2 separate regions of the Homo sapiens genome follow, and region 2 is linked to region 1. Evidence: promoter capture Hi-C in human tissues and cell types (Jung and others, 2019). All regions are on one chromosome and are shown on one strand. The core of a region is centred on a gene start or on the middle of the fragment in contact, and the rest is flanking DNA. Distances in the headings are between cores, read along the strand shown.

Region 1 (3,551 bases), core at 187-2,686:
ATTATTATCATCCCTTTTTTATAGATGAGGAAGCTGAAACTTAGAGAGGTTGACTTGCCCAAAGTCACTTAACAGCTGAGAATATCTGTGGAGGGAAGGCGAAATCCCATGCCAGGCAGCCTGACCTCAGACCCTGCACTCTCAGTCCCCAAGCCGTGACAATATTTGAAATGTTCTGAGGCTACTGATATAAGAAAAAACAATTTTTTTCCAGACAGAATTTTGATTCTTTCACATCTGTCCTATTGCTGGGCAAAACCTCTTGTGTGTTCTGTGATTGGATCTGCTTTCAGAGTGCTGAGAGCTCTGTGCAGGGGAGAAAATCCTTCAAAAACCTAGGAGAATGATAATAAAAGCAATAGTGATAATAAATGATAATGATAAGAATTATAAAAATATAAATTTTATAAAATTATAACATATAAGTATAAAATTTACAAAATATATACTTATATAAAAGATAAATATATATAAGATAAAATATAAATACATATATATTTTATAAGATAAATAAATAAATAAATATATTTTTGAGACGGAGTCTGGCTCTGTCGCCCAGGTTTGAGTGCAGTGGTGCAATCGCGGCTCACTGCAACCTCCGCCTCCCAGATTCATACAATTCTCCTGCCTCAGCCTCCTGAGTAGCTGGGATAATAGGCGCCTGCCACCACGCCTGGCTAATTTTTTGTATTTTTAGTAGAGACGGGGTTTCACCATGTTGATCAGGCTGGTCTCAGACTCCTGACATTGTGATCCGCCCGCCTCGGCCTCCCAAATTGCTGGGATTACAGGCATGAGCCGCCAGACCCGGCCTATATGTATTTTATATATATCAAGTATGTATATCTGATATATATATATAAAACAAAGTATATCTATTTTGTAAATATATATTTATTTTATAAAAATATAAAATATAAATAATACATCATAAACGATAGTAAAGATAATAAACACAGCGCGGCAGCCCCATCCCCTTTTTCTACTCACCCCTAAAACAAATCCGTATAAAAATCAAGTTTATTAAGGAGCAAGTCCCACCCTTTTTATTTAGAAGCCAGTGTCTATAGGATCGCTCTTGGCTATTGTTGGATTAATTCCAGGGTAGGGGAAAACTCCAGTTTTTGAGCCGGACACGCACTCCTGCTTTTCAGGACCTTTTTAATTTTGATGTTTTCAACTTTTAGGCCCAGGGGTCCATGTACAGGTTGCTATATAGGTAAATTGCGTGTCACGGGGGTTGGGTGCACAGATTGTTTCGTCACCCAGGTACTAAGTGGAGCACCGGATAGGTAGTTTTTCAGCCCTCACTCTCCCCACCAGAGTCAAGCAGCAAAAATGCTAGGCCTTGTGGGCGGGGCCGGGGTGCCCGCTCTTGCCACTGGTCCAATCACAGCGCGGCGTTCCTCCTGGCCGGCCGCCGATTGGTGGTTGCCATAGCTCCGGGCGTTCGCTTGCAAGATGGCGGCGGCGGGGCAGTGGCTGCTGCGTTTTCGTGTCTGAGTCCTTCCTGGGTTCTAATGAGGGCGCGGTTCTGCTGTGCCCGGCCCGCGAGGTCTAAGGCATGGGCTTCCAGCCTCCGGCCGCTCTTCTTTTGAGGCTTTTCCTTCTGCAGGGCATCCTGAGGCTTCTGTGGGGGGACCTGGGTGTGTACGGCGCGGCAGTGACCTCGGTGGGCCGGGGCTGAGGGGACTGGGCGTTAAAAGGGCCAGACTTGGACTCCCCCGGGAGCTTCGGGAGTCGACAACGCCAAAGCAAGCCGCCACACACACCTTAGGCGGTGATTCTTCCACTGCTAACCCCTCCTTGTCCCCTTTCCTTCCCGCCTAGCTTTCATCCCTCCTTTTATCCGAATGTCCGGCCCTGCGGTCAGCGCGTCCCTGGTCGGAGACACCGAGGGTGTGACCGTGTCCCTGGCAGTGCTGCAGGACGAGGCGGGTAAAGTCCGGCCCTCTTTTGGGGAGGGTGGGGGTTGGACTGGATCCAGACCTCCCAAGGAGCCTGGAGAGGTGGCATCCTTGGGGCCCCCTGCCTCTGTTCTCTGCAAAGTCGCATGGGGAGAAAAGGATCGGGCGGCTGCTGTAGGCCAAAGAGGACAGACGGACAGGTTCGAAGAAAGCCTGAAATAATAATGGTTAGCATTCATTGAGCTAACATCGTGCATCATCCCATTTTCCTAGTAAGAACAGTAATATCTTTTCATCCCCTTTGACCAAGGAAGAAACAAGTTCAGAGAGGTTGTCACTGTCCCAGTGTCAAGCAGCTTGTAAAGGGCCCAATCTTAGGCTGTAATGTGAGTCCATCCTAGGCAGTCTGACTCAATGCACCCCCTGAGCTGCTGGACCTTGCTGCCTTTGCATGCTGGTCTTCTTTCTTTAGGAATATTGCCAATTCCGACGTGTGGAGTGCTGAACAATGAGACGGAAGACTGGAGCGTGACTGTGATCCCCGGTGCGGTAAGGCCAGAAGTAAACCTTCTCTGTAGCCTGTGAAGAGGCCCCCAGCTAGGGTTTCTGCAGTGCTCTCTTTATTTAACAAGGCATGGCTTTCTCCATGCTCTCAACAATCATGAAATTGTGGGCTGTTGGATCTGGTAGACACTTATCCAGCCCACGGGTTCCTTACCCTGGGGTTAGGAGTCCTTGGATGTATTTCAGTGGGTCTGTGAACTCTATGAAATTGTATGTAAAGTTCTGTGTGTATGTGCATTTTTCTGATGAGAGGGTCACCAGTTTCCTTTAGATCATCAAATGGGTCAGTGATTCAAAAAAGCTTTATGCCAGGCATCGTGGCTCACGCCTGTACTCATAGCGCTTTGGGAGATTGAGGCGGGAGGATTGCTTGAGCCCAGGAGTTCCAGACCAGCCTGTAACATAGCGAGACCTCGTCTCTACAAAACAATTAAAAAAAAAATTAGGTGGGTGGCGTACACCTACAGTCCCAGATACTTGGAGGGGGGTGGGGTAGCTGAGGCAAGAGGATTATTTGAGCCCAGGAGTTCAGGGCTGCAGAGAGCTATGATCGCACCACTGCACTTCATCCAGCCTGGGCAACAGAGCAAGACCCTGTCTCTTAAAAAAAAAGAAAAAGCTGGTCAGGCGCGGTGGCTCACGCCTGTAATCCTAGCACTTTGGGAGGCCGAGGAGGGCGGATCATCTGAGGTCAGGAGTTCAAGACCAGTCTGGCCAACATGGTGAAACCCATCTCTACTAAAAATACAAAAATTAGCTGGGCGTGATGGCGGGTGCCTGTAATCTCAGCTACTTTGGAGGCTGAGGCAGGAGAATCACTTGAACCCGGGAGGCAGAGATTGCAGTGAGCCGAGATCACGCCACTGCACTCCAGCTTGGGTGATGAGCGAGACTCCGTCTCAAAAAAAAAAGCTTCATAACCACTGATCTTGCCCAACTCTGAGCTTATGTGTAAGGATACTCAAACCTGGAGAGATTAAGCATCTTCTATTTAATAAGTGTTTATTGGATACCTAGTATATGCAACATCAATTCTGGAGAGAAAAGGACAGGAAAGACAAGCTCTGCTTGTACCCCAGG
Region 2 (3,776 bases), core at 290-2,789, 680 kb before region 1:
GAGGGCAGACGGTCAGACCCAGCGTGCAGGACAGCATGGTCCTTGTTCAGGCGAGAAATGAAGTCATGGCTGCCTGCCCTGAAGCTGACAAAGCAAGTTGTGGCTTCTTAGATTCGGCATGAAAACGGAATTGGCATTAAAAAAACCGAAGTGTGTGCCCCACCCACCCCAGAGTAGAAATTCAGTGGGATTGCCGGGGCCAGGTGAGGCAAGGAGCCCATGCCTCGCTAAGTGGGCAGGAGCAGGGCCCACGGGACCCAGAACCAGGCTGGACTCCGTCACAGTGCTGGGTGTTTTCAGTGTGGAGGGGCTGCTCTCAGTACTGAAAGAGTTAAGAAAAGGAAGCAGCCAAGGATTGCTCGTTTAAAAAAACCTCATAGAAATCAGATTGAGAAGTAGAAAGGCGTAGAAACGTGGGCGGGCGGCCTTGACTGATGGCAGGGAGCGGAAGAGGCGGCCAGGCCCGTCCAGCCCGTGGCCTGAGGCTGGAAACAACACTGGCCTGGGCTCCAGGCGGGGCAGGCAGACAGGTGGGCAGGGTCCGGGGTGCAGAAATTAAGATACAGCCTTTCTCTCCTGCTTGCACGAGGCTCTGCCGCACTGGAGCCTTCAGTGTGGTTGTAGGTCCTGGGTCAGCAGGTACTGAGTTTCATGCATGTCAACGGGGCTGTAGCCATAGGAGGTGGTAATGGGTCTCCGCTCTCAAAAATCAGTGCAAAACCAGTGAGGTTGAACAGTTGAGAAACTCGAGTTAACAAGATGCAGGCTGGACCCCTGTTGGAGCTGCTACCAAATGGGAGGGGACCTGGGAGTGAGGGTGGCCAGTGGATGGGGAGGTGGCAGGCTGCGCCTGGGCCCACACCTGGCACCAGGACACTTGGAGATCCACACAGGGCAAAATGTCTGGGAGAACCTCCCGGGCCAGTCTGAGTGGGAGGTTCTGGTCCCTCTGCCATCCTGGGGCTGGTGGTCCCTGCCAGCTTCCATGACAAGCCGGACCCGTCAGGCCCGAGGACGTGAGGCAGGGCAGGGAGCACTGTGTGGTGCGGCCCGTGTCCTCCACAAGGCCCTGGGACAATCTCCCAGGCCCACGTCAGTGCGTGTGCCCAGGCCAGGCCTCCTGGCGGGGCTGGCCACCCTGGCCTAGCACCATGGAGACCCCGCGCTGCACTCACGGTGCCCTACTTGGGGCCCGCGGCTGCCCCCGGCTCCAGGCGGCCAGTCATGGCGCGGCCCCAGCAGCCGGCCGCCACACTCATGCTGCGCTGGCCCCGCTGCTCGCCATCCGCCTGGCTCTGTGTCCGCTCGTGCCGGTGGCTGGGCCCGCTGGGCTGGGCCGAGATGGTGCGAAGCAGGTGGTTCCGGGAGCGCAGAAAGTCGCCCTGGCCGGGCAGGCCGAAGCTGCCCTTGCGCAGCGCCATGCGGGTGGCCGTGTTGCGAGCGGGCCGCGCCCGGTGGCTGTACTTCAGCTGCGCCAGGTGGGCCGCGTAGCCATCCGTGATGAACTGCGGGGTCAGTGAGGACGGCTGTCACAGGCTGGGGCTCCCCGAGCTGCCCGCCTGCACCCGCCCCCACAATGCGCCCACTCACCTGGCACTGCTGCTGCAGCTTCTTGGTGGGCCGGCCCACGATGTAGATCTGCATGGGGGACAGGCTAATGGCGCTGTACACCGCCACGTCCTTGGTGGAGCCATAGGCCGCGTGCACGCGCAGGTGCAGCTGTGGGGAGACTGGCATGGGCACAGGCACCATGGTCCCTCTGCCCCCACCCCTGCCCTGCCCCATCCTCCCGGGCCCCACCTCGGAGATGAGCAGCTTCAGGAAGTTGGCCTTGTGCCGCAGCGGGTCATGCACCAGGCCGTCACAGAAGGACACCACGCCATGGGGGAAGTTGTGCTGGGCCAGCCACGCCACCACCCGCTGCTTCTGCATGTCGGGCCGGCCCGTCACGTAGATGATGAGGTAGCCCAGGTCCTGCCAGTGCCTGGGGGTGAGGTGTCGTCTCATGGTCACCCCTTCCTCCCTCCTGGGCCTCCCTGTCTCCTGCCCAGCCAGGGCCCACTTGGGCCATTGGAAAGCACATCTCTGATTGAGCTCAGACAGTAACGACGACAATGGTTGACAATGACGTGCTGCAGCAGGCCCTTGGGTGCCCGCACTGGGCGGCAGATGCCCCTGCTGCTGTGTCCCTGGCTTACCAGCCTCACCTTCCAGATGCGGGAATTGAAAGCCGACATTGAGAAGTGACATCGCTTGCCCAAGGTGACACGGCTAATAATTGGGGGTGCTGGGCTCTGAACTGAGGTCCTTAAGGCCCAGTGCCCGAGCCAGGCGTCCCCCACAGAGGCTCCGCTGTCCTCCTCCACCTGGCTGGTGGGAGCCCCTGAGCCCACCCACCTTGCTACAGCCCCTTTGTGCCCCTCTGGGCCACTCACCGCACCACGTCCACGGCCCCGGCCCGCACCTTGGGGTCGCTGCCCATGATGGACACGCTAGCGGCAAAGGAACCGTCGATGCTGAAGACCACGAACTCTGTGCCCTTGGGCAGCACGGTGATGTAGCTGTCGGCAAACGTGTGGTCTCCCCTGGCAGGTGGTGGGGGTGCTCATCAGAACCACCCAGAGCCTCGCCCTGCCTATCCCGCCCTCCCAGTGCAGGCATATACCTGACCACCATCTTGATAGGGTAGACACCCACGCCCAGGCGGTGCGACTCAGGGATGGTGTAGGAGACACGCCCACTGTTGTTGGTCACCAGCGTATCCAGGTAGAGCCACTCGCCTGAGGGCGGCTGGGTCATGATGTGCACATCCACCTGGGCCCAGCAGGCTGGTCACGGGCTGGCTGTGTCTGGCCTCTCCACCCCCTGCACCCCGGCCAGAGGGCAGCAGGGAGCTCCCCAAAGTCCCTCCATGTTACCCCTACCCGCCGTGTCCTTACCTTCTCCCCAGTCAGGGTGACCATGTCCAGGGGCCCATACATGAACCTGCCCGTCAGAACCTGGGGGCCGTCCTCATTGGCAAGGGCATCATTGATCCGGTGGTTGGCCGTCACGTTCTGTGGAGGGAGTGGCAAGCCCAGGTCAGGGGGTCGGAGGGCACCCCGGGTCCCTGTGTTCTGCTCAAGCTCTGTGGGCCTGAGGGGCAGGCTTGAGCTGTGAGCTGCGCAGCCCATGTCTGAGTCTGGATCAGACACGATGACGTGGCTTTGGAGAAACTAGGAAGCCTTGCTGCCTTCCCTGTCTGTGAAGTGGGCTGACAGCTCCAACCTCATGGCCTGGGAAGGTACATAAGACTGCAGGCTTCCCTGCAACTCAGTTTCCTCATCTGGACACGGAGGCTGGTGACAGGGTGACATCGTGGGGGCCTGGGCGCCCGGGGGACCCTCACCCGCAGCTTCACGTGGGTCCGCTTGCGCTGCCACTTCTCCCTTGGCTTTGAGGGGGTGAACACCGACACTTCCTTGCCATCCAGCTCCAAGATGCTGGAGTTGTCATGCCTCATGACCTGGGAAGAGGGGACAGTGCAGGCTGTGGGGCAGATGCCACCCGGGGGCTTCCTGCCCTGGGAGGAGGAGGCCCAGTACCCGGGAGCAAGAGGAGCCTGTGGGTTGTAGGGGGTGTTCTTCAACTCACTACTGTCTGCCCAGTAGCCCTCAGACCCCTGTTCGTTCACCTGACGAATGTGCAGATATGTTCCCTCCATCCCAATGTCCTGAAAAGCCTGAATACACCCGAGCATAAAGGTGCCCTCATCTTGCTTGCTCTGTGATCTGATG

The links. Contacts are between HindIII fragments. The study calls those that stand out against the background at their distance.
Region 2: a contact is called between a fragment that was not itself captured here and the fragment with the promoter of TCTN2 in region 1, in 1 of the 25 tissues and cell types used here (dorsolateral prefrontal cortex).

The regions. Positions count from the first base shown.
Region 1 is chr12:123,669,677-123,673,227 of GRCh38, forward strand. TCTN2 (tectonic family member 2) reads left to right here and starts at 1,437. Exons shown (of 18, transcript NM_024809.5): 1 at 1,437-1,646; 2 at 1,831-1,938; 3 at 2,380-2,456. The coding sequence starts at 1,565. The HindIII fragment of the contact is 13,736 bases long and covers 1-3,077 here.
Region 2 is chr12:122,984,846-122,988,621 of GRCh38, forward strand. It overlaps PITPNM2 (phosphatidylinositol transfer protein membrane associated 2), which reads right to left. Exons shown (of 26, transcript NM_020845.3): 20 at 3,389-3,505; 21 at 2,940-3,056; 22 at 2,666-2,814; 23 at 2,436-2,585; 24 at 1,801-1,984; 25 at 1,591-1,719; 26 at 1-1,505. The coding sequence ends at 1,182. Among named protein-coding and RNA genes, the nearest start is that of ARL6IP4, 6.1 kb to the left of the region's middle. The HindIII fragment of the contact is 7,000 bases long and covers 1-3,776 here.